3 separate regions of the Homo sapiens genome follow, and regions 1 and 3 are each linked to region 2. Evidence: promoter capture Hi-C in human tissues and cell types (Jung and others, 2019). All regions are on one chromosome and are shown on one strand. Each heading gives the region's core, a stretch centred on a gene start or on the middle of the fragment in contact. The rest is flanking DNA. Distances are from core to core; before and after follow the strand shown.

Region 1 (2,700 bases), core at 55-2,554, 270 kb before region 2:
ATTAACTAAAAGTATCCCTTACGGGAAATGAAGGGATGGGCCGGAATAAAGGGGTGGGTTTGGCTAGTTATCTGCAGCAGGAGCATGCCCTGATGGCACAGATCGCTCATGCTATGTTTGTGGTTTGAGAACGTCTTTCAGCGGTTTTCCACCCTGGGCGGGTCAGGTGTTCCTTGCCCTCATTCCGGTAAACCCACAACCTTCCAGCGTGGGCGTTAGGGCCATTATGAACATGTCACAGTGCTGCAGAGATTTTGTTTATGGCCAGTTTTGTGGCCAGTTTATGGCCAGATTTTGGGGGGCCTGTTCCCAACAGTAACCAATATTAAGTCATTCTCATTTCAACATTTAAACTCTTCCAACTGAATGCATTAAAAAACAAAAGTCACACACCACTGTACCCCTTATATGTACACAGCGGTCGGCAAACATGTGACAGGTGGAGGTCCTGAGGCACCACTGGGAGCTTGTGAGCGGATGGGCGTCTTCCAGAACGCACTCTGCAGGCACTCGGCAACGTGAAGTGTTCACGTCCTGTGATGCAGCCTCTGCTCCAGGCCACTTCCGGAACTGCGAGGGAACAGCTGTGGGCGCGCTCATTTCAGCTTTGCTTCAGATCCTGGGAGTTGGGGGCACCTTCTTTTTTTTTTTTTTTTTTTTTAGACGGAGTCTTGCTCTGTCACCCAGGCTGGAGTGCAGTGGCGCGATCTCGGCTCACTGCAAGCTCCGCCTCCCGGGTTCACGCCATTCTCCTGCCTCAGCCTCCCGAGTAGCTGGGACTACAGGCGCCCGCCACCGTGCCTGGCTAATTTTTTGTATTTTTAGTACAGACGGGGTTTCACCATGTTAGCCAGGATGGTCTCGATCTCCTGACCTCGTGATCCGCCCATCTCGGCCTCCCATAAAGTGCTGGGATTACAGGCATGAGCCACCGCGCCCGGCTGGGGGCACCTTCTGGCCCACAGTGAGGGAATAAGCAAACCAGAATGGGGGGTGCCTGCACGGAATACTCCTAAGTGCTCAGACACGGCGTCCACAGATGGATCCAAATCAGTGCTGGATGACGGGCACTCACCCCAGGTCTGCAGTCCAATAACACGGGCCTGAGCAGAAAGCACGTGGCATGGAGCCCCGTGGCAGATATGGGGACGAGCGGCCAATACATCAGCTCAGGTGTCCGAGGGGTTTCAGGGACATGAGAGAGAGTGGGGAACGAAGGGGGAAATCGCTTGGAGACCCAGGACGAGCCTGGCACACCAGGATGCTGATTCTGAAAGGGCGATTAAGGAGATTCCATGTTTTAAAAATCTGGATTTCTGGCTTCTTCTGAAAAAAATCAGAAGATGTTTAGCACAACAGCGTGGCATCGTCAGCTGTACTCCTGCCCCACTGTCCCCCAGGGAGCCTGGCTCATCCCATGGCTCACAGAGGCCCACACTGTGGCCAGACAGGTCCACTGATGGCTCAGCACGTGCACCCCGGCTGCAGGGAGATGGGTACCAGCCCAGGAAGTGGGACACTGGCTGAAACAGGATGGGATGCAGGGATGGGGTGGGATGGGAGACCAAACCAGTGTGAGGAATGAGGATAAAGGAGATGCTGGAGATAAAATCTGGGCAAGTAAGCAGGGGGTGGTCCTGCTGGCTGAGGCCAGAGATGCCAGCCCACTCAGACTCCTGCGCTGGCCCTTCCACACCATCCCAGGCCCAAGGCCTCCCACACACAGCGTCACATACACAAACAGCACCCTCCTCATGGCAACAGGTGACCCTGCCCCTTCACAGACCTCCCTGCCCCCACAGTCACCCCACATTTTAAAGGGAACTTGAGTCCATCCTGATATGTAAACGTGAGGTTAAATATCTATCATGGGGGAGAACAGACAAATCTCCAGTGCAGAATAGTTCTAAATAACCTAAGTGGAGGCTCCACTCTTGAGGAGATCCAGCCTAACTCCCCACCTCTCCAACGCGGCTCATCGCAGCGACCTCCTTCTTCCAACGTGGCTCATCGCAGTGACCTCCTTCTCAGGAGTGCAGAGTGGAGGTCAGTGGTGGAGTGAAGACGGACCAGGGTTAACATCGGCAGTGATCACTTGACCTCTGCACACTTGACTCTGGGTCTTTCTCCCCAAAAAAAACCAGAACCTCAGTATAATCGTGAGGAAAATAGACAAATCCTAATTGAGGGACATTCTCCAAAATACCTGACTGGCCCTCCTCAAAACTGCCAAGGTCATGGAAAAAGGAAAGTCTGAAAAACTCACAGTTTAGGAACCTAAAGAGACTTGATTACTAAATGGAATATATCCTGGGATCCTGGAAAAGAAAAGGACATTATGTAAAAACTAAGAAAACCTGAATAAAATGTGGCCTTTAGTTAATAAGAATCCATCAATATTGGTGCATTCGTTGTAACAAGTAGTTGTAACAAGTGCCACGCTAATGTAACACGTTAGTACCAGCGTAACTGGGTGCCAGGCGTTTGTAAACTCTGTTCCGTCTTCTCAATTGTTTTGTGAATCTAAAACCGTTCTTTAAAAAGAGTTTATTTAGTAGGCTGGGCATGGTGGCTCACACCTGCAATCCCAGCACTTGGGAAGGCCAAGACTGGTGGATCACTTGAGCTCAGGAGTTGGAGACATGCCTAGGTAACATGGCAAAACCCCATCTCTACTAAAAATACAAAAATTAGCCAGGT
Region 2 (2,700 bases), core at 67-2,566:
AGGACTCCCAGACCTCGTATCATTAGGTGTTTTAAAGAGAAGGCGAGGGCAGGCCAGGCGCAGTGACTCACGCCTGTAATCCCAGCACTTTGGGAGGCCGAGGCGGGCGGATCACCTGAGGTCAGGAGTTCAAGAGCAGCCTGGCCAACATGATGAAACCCTCTAAAATTAATAATAAATTAATAATAAAATAATTATAATAATATAGAAAATAATATATAAAATAATAAATATATAAAATATAAAACAAAATAAAAATAAAAAATAAAATTAATATTAAAAATACAAAAATTAGCTGGGCACTGTGGTGGGCACCTGTAATCCCAGCTACTCGGGAGGCTGAGGCAGGAGAATTGCTTGATCCTGGGAGGCGGAGGTTGCAGTGAGCCGAGACCGTACCATTGCACTCCAGCCTGGGCAAAAGAGTGAGACTCCGTATTTTGAAAAAAAAAAAAGAGAGAATGTGAGGGTTAAACAAAGACACACAGAGATGGAGAAAGGGCAGCCTTACATCAACACGGGTACATTGCAAACACCTGCAGAGGTGGGGGACCAGCTGGATGCCAGAGCCCACTGCCGCCTACGGGCTGGGGTGCCTATAGGTATGGGTGGGAGCGGCCCGGGCCACACGGCTTCAGGATGAGGCCGTTTGTTTGGCCCTTGTTCCCGCAGAAGGTAATCGTGATGTTCCTCGGTGTTTTTCCCCGCAGAGTGTTCAAGTCAGGTGTCGGGCAGGCTGTTCCTCACGGCCCAAACCCCTGCGGAATGCTTCACTTTGGCCGAGGTCTGTGACACAGCGAGGGGCTTACAGAAAGGTGCAGTTTGGACCGATAGATGTGAGTCCCCCTCTGGGGGGCACTCACTTTGTGGAGCCCCCGGTTCCTGTTTGCAGAGGGGGGCACAGTGGCACCTCGTCCGCTGTGGAGTGAGAACAGGGACCCGACCACGTGAAGCACAGAGAATGCTCAGGGATCGGCAGCCGTGTATCCAGCCAACATCACCAGGGTGCACGCAGAGCCTGGCCCGGGCCAGGTCCTGGGGTGCTGAGCATGGGTGGGGCCTGAGAGACGGCTCAGGGACCATCCTGGGAGGGCCGGGCGGAGGGGCAGCAACTGGGGCTCAGGCTCAGGCAGTCCCAGCAGTGACTGGGAGGCAGCTGTGCCCATGAAGCTGTGCCCTTCTCCAGCCTCAGCCCTCAGCCCGGCTTCCCGGGCTGGCCCCGCCACTCAGCAGCCCCTCCCCATCCTCCGAAAACCCAAGCTCACCTCTGGGTTCCGGCTGGGTGGGGGTTGCCAGGAGACGGTTGCCAGGTCACCACTGTTGTTTCCTGGCCCAGGCTCCCAGGACCTTGTGGGCTGGGCAGGTAAGAAGCGCCGGCGGCCACCAGCTGGGGTCCAGTGGGCTCGGCCCCGCCCTCCTACGCCCTGCCTGCGGGTCCCCTCGGGAGGCTGCTCAGGAGAGGAGGAGGCTGGGGAGGGGACTGGACAGGGATCGGGTAGGGTGGGGCCAGGCTGAGCCTGCTCTGCGGGTCCCGGACCCCAGCGCCACCGTGCGAGAGGCTCGGGTCCAGGCCAGGCCGGGGAACGGTGTGTGTACCCGGTGGGGTGGGAGGGCTGGGCAGCCCTGGGACGAGCTCCGTGGCCTGGGACCAGGTCTGCCTCCGCAGAGCAAGTCCTGGACGGACGGCTGCTTGAGCCCACAGGTCGTGCGTCCTTTGACAGCGGCCTCCGGCCGGGAGGCACCAGCTCTTCGAACAATGTCAGTACCTTCCTAGGGCCCCACGTGGCCAAGCTTGGATTCTGGGGGGAGAACTCGCAGCAGGACACTAACATGTGGTCGCTTTTTGGATGATTTCTTCAGGTTTAAAAGTCTCTTCTGTTCATCCTACCGGGGTGCCGTCTCCTGCCGGTCTTTTCATCTCACCAGGTAAAACGCTTATTTTACAATTTATTGTAAGGTCGTGCACCAAGTTTCCACGCCGCCTTTACACCGTGTCCCCACCGAGGGGCGTCACAACCGTCCTCCACACCGGGCGTCACCGGCTTCCCAAGTCCCACCGCTATAAAGGACACGTCAGTCAGCATCTCGGAGTGAGACGCTTTCCTTCTGGATTCAGAATCGCGTCCGTCAGAGACTCCAAAGCACATTTGCTAGATCGACAGGCGTGAGGAGCCAGCGGCTCCCGGCGCTTGGGAGGCTGCGTCCCACCTGCATTCAGGCCCCGGGTTCACCACACACACAGCGGGCAGCTGCTTAAGAAACCTTTGATTTCAGTCCGGGGCGGTGGCTCACGCCTGTAATCCCAGCACTTTGGGAGGCCGAGGTGGGCGGATCACGAGGTCAGGAGTTTGAGACCAGCCTGGTCAACATGGAGAAACCCTGTCTCTACTAAAAATACAAAAATTAGCCGGGCATGGCAGCAGGCGCCTGTAATCCCAGCTACTCAGGAGGCTGAGGCGGGAGAATTGTTTGAACCTGGGAGGCGGAGGTTACAGTGAGCCGCGATTGCGCCATTGCACTCCAGCCTGGGCGACAGAGTGAGACTTCGTCTAAAAAAATTAAAAAAAAAAACACCTTTAATTTCAATGACAAGAAATAACAGCTCACAACTTATTTAGTTATTTGTGAACATCATAAGGACATAAAGTTAGAAAAGCCCAAAGGAGGCCTCAGGCTTACGATGAAATCAGCACCTGGCTG
Region 3 (2,700 bases), core at 74-2,573, 310 kb before region 2:
CCTACACCTAGAACACTAAGATACTGGTAACGTAGAAAAATGTGTAGTTAATGCCTTGATGGATTCTTTTCTATTTTTTTCTCTAGCAATATTTATGTCTATCCACAGAAAGCGTACACTCATGTATTTGCATGGCTAATATATTTTATGTAAAGTTCTATATATTTCTCAACATTTCACTTAATATTTCTTTATAAACATTTTTCCAGTGAATAAAAATTTTTCCAAACAGTAATTTTAATGACTATATAACATTTCATTGCATTTATATATCATTTGTTATTTAACTACTTCATCATTTTGGATTCACATATTTTCAATAATTTCCATTATAATAATAATGTCATGAATACCTTTGTACAAGAATATTTATATTTCTAATTATTTCCTTAGTCTAGTATCCTAAAAACTAAAATTCCTACATCGAAAGGTCAATGTGTATCACGGCTCTTGATTGACATATTGATTTCCATGAAGCTTTCATCAATTAACCCATGAACAGTGTCTGCAAGTGCTCCTTGCCCCATACCTTCCACAATGTGGACTCTTATTGGAAGTATCTAAATTTCACTTCAGAATTGCAGCCCTGAGTTATTAAACACACCTCTACTACACCTATGAAATTGTCTACAAATTGTCTTAGTTTCTTTTCAGCTTTGATTTCTAGAATTGCATGACATTGAAGACAAATGATATAATACCCATAAAGAAGGTTTTATGACCTCTTTCATTATCTCCAACAATCAGAAAGGCAAATTCACAGTAGAGGGCTGAGAAATCTTATCTGAAAATTAACTAAAATGCTGCTTTTGTCAACAGAATTACTTGGGCTTCATTTCATTCCACAATTTCCTGTGTACTGTTTATTACAAGAAGAAAAAATTTCCTGCCATACAAAATGCTCCATGCAGGTAGAACCAGGAATCTAAAGAAACCTGAGGAAGGTGCTAGAATCATCACTACCATCTTTTTTTTTTTTTTTTTTTTTTTTTTTTTTTTTATGGAGACAGGGTCTTGCTCTTCACCCAGGCTGCAGTGCAGTGGTACAATCTTGGCTCACTACAACCTCCACCTCCAGGGGCTCAAGCGATCCTCCCACCTCAGCTTCCTGAGTAGCTGGGACCACAGGCAAACGCCACTGTGCCCAGCTAATTTTTAAACCTTTTTGTAGCAACAAGGTCTCACTATGTTGCCCAGGCTGGTCTTGGACTCCTGGGCTCAAACAATCGTCCCGCCTTGGCCTCCCAAAATGCTGGCATTCCAGGCAGGAGCCACTGTACCTGGCCCCACCTTCTTTTTGCTGTAGGCTGAGCACAGGAGAAGTTGAATTTATCAGGGAACCTAAAGACATGCCCTTCTTTGAAGGCAGAAGTCCTGTCCACGTCAAATGCCCTCCCTCCATCCCTCCCAGCTCCCTAGTCATCCTTCCTATTCTAGGCTCCAGGAGCGAGACCTCCTCCATGTGCCTGCTAACGTCAGTGCCACGGGCCCTCTTTGGTTCTCCTGCCCACCTTCTCTGACTCTGCCCAACACCCACGGGCCAGAGGCCCTTTTCCTTCTTGGCACTTCTCGGTGTTGTAGCAGGATGAGCCACGGACAAAACCCCTCAGACGCCGGGTTAAGGAATGATTTGGTTTTATTCGGCCAGGAGCTTCAGCGGACTCAAGTCTCAAGAACCGAACTCTCTGAAGACAGAGTTCCTGGCCCTTTTAAGGGTTTACAACCTTTAGGTTCCACGTGAAAGGGTCGTGATAGATTGAGAGCACATGCGTTTAGAGTGGGGTGGGGGGGTTAATCTTTTAACCTCAGGCCTGATCATCAGGGGCACCAGCTGGTCTTGCCACTGACTTCATTCCTGTTGTTTTTCAACTTTTACTTCCTCCTCCTCTTCAGACAGGAGACAGTAAGAGAAATGGCCTCTCTCCTCAGCGGCACAATGGACTTTAGACATCGCGCCTGTTTTGTACTCTCCAAGCCGGACTTCTCTACTCGCTGGCCTGGCGCTGATGCCCAGAGGCCCCCTGTGCTTGTGGTCGTGGCCTTAGACAGTTCCCTGCCCTTTGTAAGTACTAACTTAACTCTTGAATGTGGACGTTTTAAGCTGACTTTTCTTCTCAGCCCTCTGTAAGAGTTTCGAATCTCCCCATAGCAATCAATGTAATTGTTTTCACCCAGGGTGTTGGTCCTGGCTGCTTCGATTTTAAAGTAATCTCTCATTTTGCTGAGGAGAATTTATTAGAGTAAATGACTGTTTTCACCTGTCATGTCACATTAAAATGTGGAGAGAACTGGTTGTAGGGGCAGTCAAACTGGCTGTGAGACCCTTCGAGCAGCCATGCATCTCCTGGACAGCTCGAACACTGATCAGGGAGGAGATACTGAAAATAAGAAATAAGAATTGCCTTTATATGTGTGTATGAGTATAGACACATACATCATGTACATGTATGTGTGTATGTGCATATGTGTGCATGTGAAGATGGATAGATGATAGATACATAGGTGATTTATGTATAGGTAGATGACAGATATTGGTAATTAATTGATAGTAGATAGGTTGATAGTATATAGGTGATTGATAGATGGATGATAGATCATTGATAGATGATAGGTAGATAGTAGATAGATTATAGGTAGATAAATAGATGGATGATGGATGGATGATAGATACTTGATTGATAGATGATAGGTAGATAGTAG

Evidence for each region. The method cuts DNA at HindIII sites, captures the fragments that hold promoters and counts their contacts. A contact is called where the count stands out against the background at its distance.
Region 1: a contact is called between a fragment that was not itself captured here and the fragment with the promoter of TTLL10 in region 2, in 2 of the 25 tissues and cell types used here (dorsolateral prefrontal cortex and mesenchymal stem cells).
Region 3: a fragment that was not itself captured here is called in contact with the fragment with the promoter of TTLL10 in region 2 in 4 of the 25 tissues and cell types used here (heart left ventricle, mesenchymal stem cells, mesendoderm cells and 1 more).

The regions. Positions count from the first base shown.
Region 1 is chr1:898,385-901,084 of GRCh38, forward strand. No RefSeq gene overlaps it. Among named protein-coding and RNA genes, the nearest start is that of LINC02593, 20 kb to the right of the region's middle. The HindIII fragment of the contact is 9,929 bases long and covers 1-2,700 here.
Region 2 is chr1:1,172,564-1,175,263 of GRCh38, forward strand. TTLL10 (tubulin tyrosine ligase like 10) reads left to right here and starts at 1,317. Exons shown (of 16, transcript NM_001130045.2): 1 at 1,317-1,363; 2 at 1,722-1,758; 3 at 1,861-1,926. It overlaps TTLL10-AS1 (TTLL10 antisense RNA 1), which reads right to left. Exons shown (of 2, transcript NR_173246.1): 2 at 493-2,700. RefSeq lists a silencer at 1,467-1,556. The HindIII fragment of the contact is 14,261 bases long and covers 1-2,700 here.
Region 3 is chr1:859,212-861,911 of GRCh38, forward strand. It overlaps LINC01128 (long intergenic non-protein coding RNA 1128), which reads left to right. Exons shown (of 4, transcript NR_047524.1): 4 at 1-235. LOC107984850 (a long non-coding RNA gene) reads left to right here and starts at 1,016. Exons shown (of 3, transcript XR_001737608.3): 1 at 1,016-2,062. The HindIII fragment of the contact is 3,261 bases long and covers 1-2,700 here.